Linked DNA regions of Homo sapiens: all the other regions are linked to region 2. Evidence: promoter capture Hi-C in 16 types of primary human blood cells and fetal thymus (Javierre and others, 2016). All regions are on one chromosome and are shown on one strand. Each heading gives the region's core, a stretch centred on a gene start or on the middle of the fragment in contact. The rest is flanking DNA. Distances are from core to core; before and after follow the strand shown. Region 1 overlaps LOC105375566 (a long non-coding RNA gene). Region 2 holds the start of ZNF775 (zinc finger protein 775). Region 3 holds the start of LOC105375567 (a long non-coding RNA gene).

The links. The method cuts DNA at HindIII sites, captures the fragments that hold promoters and counts their contacts. A CHiCAGO score of 5 or more calls a contact.
Region 1: a fragment that was not itself captured here is called in contact with the fragment with the promoter of ZNF775 in region 2 in 7 of 17 cell types (activated CD4 T cells, non-activated CD4 T cells, naive CD8 T cells and 4 more); the score reaches 12.7 in activated CD4 T cells.
Region 3: a contact is called between a fragment that was not itself captured here and the fragment with the promoter of ZNF775 in region 2, in 2 of 17 cell types (non-activated CD4 T cells and total CD4 T cells). The highest score is 6.3, in non-activated CD4 T cells.

The regions. Positions count from the first base shown.
Region 1 is chr7:150,768,168-150,770,867 of GRCh38, reverse strand. The region is part of intron 2 of LOC105375566 (a long non-coding RNA gene); the gene reads left to right. Among named protein-coding and RNA genes, the nearest start is that of TMEM176B, 31 kb to the left of the region's middle. The HindIII fragment of the contact is 1,187 bases long and covers 753-1,939 here.
Region 2 is chr7:150,377,890-150,380,589 of GRCh38, reverse strand. It overlaps ZNF775 (zinc finger protein 775), which reads right to left and starts at 1,260. Exons shown (of 3, transcript NM_173680.4): 1 at 1,198-1,260. It overlaps ZNF775-AS1 (ZNF775 antisense RNA 1), which reads left to right. Exons shown (of 2, transcript NR_183445.1): 2 at 402-745. RefSeq lists enhancers at 42-101, 2,112-2,271 and a silencer at 892-1,701. The HindIII fragment of the contact is 8,122 bases long and covers 1-2,700 here.
Region 3 is chr7:150,876,312-150,879,011 of GRCh38, reverse strand. It overlaps LOC105375567 (a long non-coding RNA gene), which reads left to right and starts at 1,882. Exons shown (of 5, transcript XR_928171.3): 1 at 1,882-2,003. The HindIII fragment of the contact is 2,523 bases long and covers 108-2,630 here.

The DNA of each region.
Region 1 (2,700 bases), core at 97-2,596, 390 kb before region 2:
CAACCTCCGTCTCCCGGGATAAAGCGATTCTCCTGTCTCAGCCTCCCAAGTAGCTGGGACTACAGGCGGGCACCACCACGGTCAGCTAATTTTTGTGTTTTTAGTATAGATGGGGTTTCACCATGTTGGTCAGGATGGTCTCGATCTCTTGACTTCGTGATCCACCTGTCTCAGCCTCCCAAAGTGTTGGGATTACAGTGTGAGTCACTGTGCCCGGCCTCTTGGATTTTTATGTAGTGTGAGGTAGCAGCCCAGCTTTACTTTCTTCTAATTGGAAAGCTGTTTTTTCCTCACCACTTAACTAAATAACCAATTTTCCTCTGCTTTTTCATACATTTATTCCCATTATTAACTAGGATTCATTATGTACTATGTATATTGTCCTACTGATTTATTTGTGTGTTTTATGCCGATGCCAGACTAACTTATGTTCAGGCATTTTTTTTCCGCACAAGGGAGCCTGAAGAAAGCATATCTAATTCCACACACAAAAACAACAGATTTCAATTGGAATTTAATTATGTATATATCCATTTTGGAAGAATGTATATCTTCATAGTGGTAAGTATTTTCATACCAGAACATGGTCTGTTTTTCTGTTTGTTCAGGTCTTGTTTCATGTTTTTCAATATGGTTGAGCTATATTTATAGTTAAGTATATCATGAATATATATATATAAGAGTATATGTACAGCATAAAGCTCAATAAAGCCATACCCAGTTTAAGGAGTAGAGCATTGCCCTTCGAAGCTTCCCATCCCACCTCCATGAGTTCCTCTCCCTGTCGCTAGGGTATTATTACTATCCTCTCTTTTGTGTTAATCATTCACTTTCTTTCTTTTTCTTTTTTTTGAGATAGGGTGTTGCTCCATTGCCTAGGCTGGAGTGCAGTGGTGCAATCATAGCTCACTGCAGCCTTGACCTCCTGGGCTCAAACGATCCTCCCACTTTGGACTTTTGTGTAGCAAGATCACCTTGTGCACCACCTCACCTGGCCAATTTTTTTTTTTTTTTTGTAGAGATAGGGCCTCACTGTTTTGCCCAGGCTGGTCTCGAACTCCTGTCCTCAGGAATCCTTCTGCTCTGGCCTCCCAAAGAGTTTGGATTACAGGCGTGAGTCACCGCGCCCAGCCTTTCCTTGCTTTTCTTTATAGTTTTGTATCACCTATGTCTGTTGCTCTAAACAATATATATTTTTAGTTTTTTTCCACGACTAACCTTGTCAAAAATGGAATCAGATTCTGTATTCTTCTGGGAAAAGAACGGTTCTTCTTTGATTAAACATTATGTATATGATATTTATTCATGTTGATGTAGGTAATTGTGTTTTGTTCATTTTTCCTGCTGAATATCATTCCACTGTGTGGATATTCTATAATTTGCTTATCCAATGCAGTATTGATGAATATTTGGGTTGTTTGTAGCTTTTTACTATCATGAGTCTTCTTACAAAATATCCTTATGCATTCATGTAAGTTTTTCTTTAAGGCAATGGTCTTCAAACTTTTTTACTTCTGTATTCACTAAAGGGATTTTTAAAAATTTAGGTCTTCTCTTGATTTTAAGCTGAACTTCTAAAATTTTTTCATCATGAATATTTGCAAAGGATGTAATTTCTAGCACATTGTAGATATTAACATTTTTAAATGAAATTACTTCAGTGCAAAAATTGAGAAGCCTTGTTCATATAAACGAATCAATAGAAATATAATCAATTCTGTTATGCTAATGCCACTCAATTCTTTGTACTCCTTCCAAAATAAATGCCAAAACCGCATAGTGGTTTCTCATTAATTTTTAATTTCTATTGATGGATATATCTGTCTTCCTTTTTGTTGAAAACAAAATAGTGGAGACTGCTTGACTTGCAGAAGGATTTAATGGCCAGTCATTAGAATCACTTGATTTCTCAATGTCTGGGAAGTATACCAAAAAAGCTTTATCAAGACATACCAAATGACTATAAATTGTATGTCTTACTCTTTCACTGAAAGGTTGAAAAGTATCCCATTTAACCCATTATATCTAAAATATTTGGAAAAATTGAAATATTATGAACTTTGATAAACCTCTGTCAATCTATTTAAAAAAACTTTTTAAGTGGAAAATTCTAAATACATAGAAGTAGAAAAAATAGCGTACTGAACTCAACGTATCTATCATTAGGCATCAACAGTTATACATGGGCAATCTTGTTTCATCTAAACCCCTATCCTTTCCACTCCTAGTTTTTATTATTGTTTTTATTTTTTGAAATAGGGTCTCACTCTGTTACCCAGGTTACGATGCAGTGGCATGATCACAGCTCACTGCGGCCTTGACCCCCGGGCTCAATGGATCCTCCTACTTCAGCCTCCTGAGTAGCTGGGACTACTGGTGCATGCTACTATCTTCCGCTAATGTTTTAAAAAATATTTTGTAGAGATAGGTCTGTGTTGCCCAGGCTGGTATTAACTCCCAGGCTCAAGCCATCCTCCTGCCTTGGCCTCCCAAAATGTGGAGATTAAAGGTGTGAGCCACCATACTCGGCCCCTTTTGACGTTTCTGACAAACTTCCCAAGATTAATTTCTAAATTAAGCCTTTTTTATTGATCTTGAACTAACTTTGGGACTTTTGAGATGGGCTCCTGGAAAATGTGAAAGAATTTCTCTCTCACCTTGTAAAAGAGGGACATTAAACTAATTGGCTTATTTGATATG
Region 2 (2,700 bases), core at 11-2,510:
CCGTGTCCTCGCACCCTGTGACCAACCTTGGAAGGCCCTTGCTCAGTTCTCCCCTTCCCAGCCCAGATTAGGGATCGCTTTGACCAGGAAGCCTTTTTGGACACACCAGGCACAGCCAGGAATCCCTTCTCTGTTTAACCTGTGCACCTAGGACCATCTACATGGAATCATCATTGTCATCAATTTGTTAGTCTGCACAAGACTACATGCATCTTAACACAGGGTCCTTCTCTCTCCCCTGCACCCAGTACAGGCTCCACACACAGTAATCCATTAATAAAAACTGTCATAAGGGAACACTTAAATAAAAGAAATTTCAGTACAAAACAGATTTGAAGCACGGAAGCATGAACCTTCAAGCTGAAAGGAGACAACTGCCATCTAATCTCTTCATTTTACAGATGAACATGGGAACAGTTAGCTGTGAAGCCTTGGGCTGTCGTCCGCCTCCAACCCCTGGGGCTCTGACCACACCCAGCCCCAGCTCAGATCATCTTGCTCAAAGGGCCGAAGGAGGACCCATCTCCACACCTTCCACATGTAGATATCCTCAACGTTCTTCACAGAGGGGATGCCCGCACCCCGCCCCACCGAGTTCGCGGCTGCTGTGCCCATCTTCCTAGAGAGGAGTTCTCCGCCACACCCGACACCACACACTTCCAACTTCTGCGGTGCTTCCCTCTCACTTATCTCCACCCCCAATCCTTATCCCCGCTCGTTTAATCACACATTTATTGGTCACCTACTATGTGTCTGTCACTCTGCAGCGAGCATTGGGGTTCCTGCCCCCAGAAACTGATCTATCAGGGAGGCGAACAGGGACGGGGAACTCGGAACAACGGGACAGCCCAGGAGAGACCGCCCGCGGGCGACCCCTCTACTCGCCACCGCGTCCTCCCTCCATTCTCACTAGCCTCCCTCCTAACCTCGCTGCCCTGGCCTGGCGCCCTCCCCACCCTCGGCCGCGCCCCTTTCCCCTCGGCTGTGTCGGGGCAGAGGGAACGCTTGAGACCCGGGGCTCGGGGGGCGCGCGGGGCTCGGGGCACCCCAGGCCCCCGCCCCATCCCTCCGCCCCAGCCCGGGCCGGGCGGAGGCAGCACGGGAGGAGCGGGGCCGGGCGCTGGTCCATCCCTCGCACCGCCCCTCCCCGCCCAAAATGCAGAGGGACTCGGAGGGAGGCGACGGGGAAATAAATACCTTTGACTTTGTGGCTAAGGTTAACGGGAACTGCCACCCCGAGGGCGACTTGGGCACCGGGCTCCCGGCCCTGGCCATTCCCGGGGCAGGCGGGGCGGGCACGGGTGCCTGATTGGCTGGCGGGCCTGGCCATCCCCGGGGCCGCCCAGCCACTCCATTGGCTGCGCCGCTCAGATGACCCGCCCGGCCCTATCGGAGCAGCCCGCGGGGCGGCTCCTTTGTTCTCTGGAGCCAATAGCCGAGGGGGGAGGGCTGACCTCGCCCCCGGCGGGCGCGCAAGGCCCGGGCGCCGTGAGCGCGCTAGCCGCCGGCCGCGGGGAGGAGACCTTGGGAGGTCGGGCCCCAGATGGCCGGCGGCGTCCTGGCACCCCTGCCAGGCCTGGACTCCGCGTGCGACCCCGTTGTAACGCCTGAACTCAGCGCACGTTCGCCGAGCGCCACAGCGCGCCGGACGCTGTTTCTCCCTGCTGGGGACCCATCAGGGCCCGGACAGAAACCCCGGCTGAGGCTGTGGCTGCCCTCAAGCCGCGATAGCCCCACCGTGGGGTGTGATAACTTTTAGGGTTCACTACGAGGGACCTTAGAAATCATTATACCCGACCCCTTCGTTTTCTGTTTCAGGGAGGTGGTCTCGCTCAGACCCCAGTGGCGCGATCATGGCTCAGTGCAACCTCGAACCCGTGGCTCAACCGAACCTCCCAACCTGCTAACTTTTTAAATATTTTGTAGAGATGGGGGTCTCGCCATGTTGCCCAGGCTGGTCTCGAACTCTTGAGCTTAAGTGACCCTGCGGCCTCGGCCTCCCAAAGTGCTGGGATTACAAACCCGCGCCCGGCCTAATCCCTTTGTTTTCTAGCTGAGGAACGGCTCTGAGGTTACGTTACTAGGTCGGGTTACTAGGTAGGGTTCCCGTGAGCGGAATCATCTCCGCCCAGTTGCCACCCCGGTCCAGACTGCCAGACCTTCAGGAAGGAGTATCTTCGCAACTCCCCACCCCATTGTAAGGAAATTCCTCACACTTCTCCCTCAAAGGGGGCGCAGCTGGGTCAACTCCCACTGGCAGGATGCTCTCCGGAGCTGCTAGAAGCTGCCTCTGGGGCATGAGGTAGATACAGACAGAAGCTGGGCCTCTGAGACTCTACAAACGGTTGCTGTTGGGCAGGCGGACCTTATTTTCTTCAGTCAACAGCTGATTAAACATTTGCCACAGGCCCGGCTGCGGTTTAGCCTCAGTAGCACAGCAGGAACTGGGGACTGAGATTCGATTTTGTCACTAACTTCATGTGTACTTTTTATAAAAGATACTTTTCTGTTTCTGGACTTTGACTTATTCGTCTATAAAATAGGGTTAATAATTTTCTAGTTGCCTGCATACCTTACTGAGTTTTTACCGTTAATTTGGTTATATTATCTATAGAAGGATTTGTAAAATACAAAATCATACACACCCTATAAAGAGGCCACACATCACTAGCTATCAACACTTTGGAGTCTCATTCTCCT
Region 3 (2,700 bases), core at 120-2,619, 500 kb before region 2:
CCTTTTTCTTTATGACTTGATTGCCCCCGTATGCTAAAATACTTGCTGTTTTACTTTTCCTTTCATTGACATTTACAATCCTTTGTCTTTTAGTAGTTTCACAAGCTTTGAAACAATGTTTAGATAATTTTAAAAAATAAAAATAAAACAATGCTAAGGGTACAATCATTGATGTTTTAAATATATCAGCTGCTATAAGGCACTTTGTCCAATTTTCATAATAATTTTGTCTTAATGGTGTTAAGAGCAAAGATTTAAGATTTACTTTCTTAGTGCCATAAAAATAAGAGCTATTCAGCTGGGTTTCTGAAATATTAAGTGCAATGCAAAAGTTTGTTTGCCTAATATCCCTGGACACCAGGCTTCCCAAAATATCCTGCCCCAGACCATAGCCACATCTTCCCACTAGATTCCTGGGCAACTAGAAACAATGGTAAAGGAAAACAAGGTCACACAATTTTTTTTGAGATGGAGTCTTGCTCTGTCACCCAGGCTGGACTGCAGTGGCGCGATGTCGGCTCACTGCAAGCTCAGCCTCCCTGATTCACACCATTCTCCTGCCTCAGCCTCATGAGTTGCTGGGACTACAGGCGCCCGCCACCACGCCCAGCTAATTTTCTTTTCTATTTTTCGTGGAGATGGGGTTTCACCATGTTAGCCAGGATGGTCTTGATCTCCGACCTCGTGATCCACCCGCCTCGGCCTCCCAAAGTGCTGGGATAACAGGCGTGAGACACTGTGCTCGGCTAAGGTCACACTAATTGTTAGCTGGGAGTGGACCCCAAACCTGTTGAAAGAACCCATCAGCTTTCCTTTAAGAAGGTAATGCCACAGACCACAACAGATAATTGAGGGTTATTCTGTGAGCTTCCACTAAAGCTAAAACATGTGTGGAAGGGACAGAAGAGAGGATAACAGGTTTGCTGGCCTGTTTACCACTTGGGGACGTTTGGATGGATGATGAAGAAGAAAAAGAATCAAAAGGACTGGGGCTCATCACAGGTGGGAATAGTATAATATTAGCTCTTCATTCAGAACCATGGTAGCAAAAAGAGAGAAAACTGCATCTGTGGACTGAATTATTCCCCTCAGCCCTCTACCCCAGTGTGTCTTCTTTTTGGGAATAGAGTAGAAAGCCAGGAAAATGGTGGGGATCTAGGAGGAAGCAGGCATCTCCTCTGACTTGCACGTCCCCCTGTTTCACTGTCCTTTGTTAACTCACTGTGTTTGACAGCCACATCTGTGGTCAGCCAGGGGTGCAGCTGCTCCTACTGGTAGCTAATGGCCATAGAACACCAGGGGCGTCTTAAAGCCCCTTCTGTGATCCGCACCACTGCTCCTGGGTATACTCCCAGGGTCTGTTATATGGGTAACATGCACCTCGCAGCAAGATCTCCTGAAATGGGTTAGGACAGGAATATTAGGTAATTGCAAACCCATACTTCCCACCATTCTTGTCTTCAATTATGGCCAATTACATAGTTACGGCAGCCTTGTATTGTTACAATACAATCTTCCTCTATGCTTAGGAACCTCTATGGAGATGGTTGTGTTACTTCAACCAAAGACAAGAAGAGACTAATCTGCAGAATTAGAACAATTCCCTAGTTCTTCAACAAATCAGTGCTGCTTTTCTTGCCAATAATAGACGTGTTTGTATTTCTCCGTGGAAACCCTTGGGGTAAACATGTTGCTTGTTCTTCCAATAAAGAATTGAACCACCAGAGGGCCTCAGGCGACTCAGGAGGTTTGGGAAGAGACAAAGGCACATGCTTAGAGGGTCTGGAGAAGGCGAGGAAGAAGGAAGGGAGCCAAGTAAAACATGTGACTGACCAGGGGCTTTGGAGAAGACAAGCCCTGCAGGAAGGCACGCATGTGGTCATTCTGTCTGTAGCCTCCCATTCCTCCCTGCTTTCCCCAGCTGCATCTACCTGGATCCTGAATTTGAACCAAGTGGTCCAAACGGCCCGGTCACCTGAGCAACCCCTCTGCAGGAACCGCAGGTGTGGGCGGGGTGGTGGGGAGGAGGCGGGGGGGTGGGGGAAAGGCGGGGGGTGGGGGGAGCTCAGCGGCGCCATCTAGCGTCCAGACAGCGGTGGCTCTGGGAAAGCTGATTGTTTTCTTAGCCAGAGGAGGAAGAGAAGGTTGGTCCTCAGCGCCTGGACGCCTGGTAGACGATAGGGGATGACATGATGAGTAAAATAAGGACAGGAACACGCCGAATCCCCTTTCATAATGATAGGACCACGCCAAATCCCCTTTCTTTTTAAAATTTGACATATACCCTTGAATATATATGTATTCTTATAAAATATGGTTATCTGGTATGTATTTATGTATATTGATATAAAGCTGCAGATTTAAAAATAGTACTTCTTTCATCTCTCTCCATCTACATAGTCTTCGTGGTTTTCAGTAAAATGATAATTTCTGGATTACTTAGATGTAGTTATTATGATCCAACCCTTGAATAAGGGGAGTTGAGAGTTGGTGAAACATCCCTGTCTCAATATTTGTTCATGCCATATTTCCTTTGAAAGAATTTACAGATAAAGGCATCAAATACCTGAAAAAGTAACAAGTTTACTATATTTTACTTGAGAATTTGTATATATATTTTTAAGAAAGCTTTTTAGTTTTGGCGTAATTATAAACTCACAAGAGGTAGCAAAAAGAGTACGGAGTTCTGTGAACCTTCAA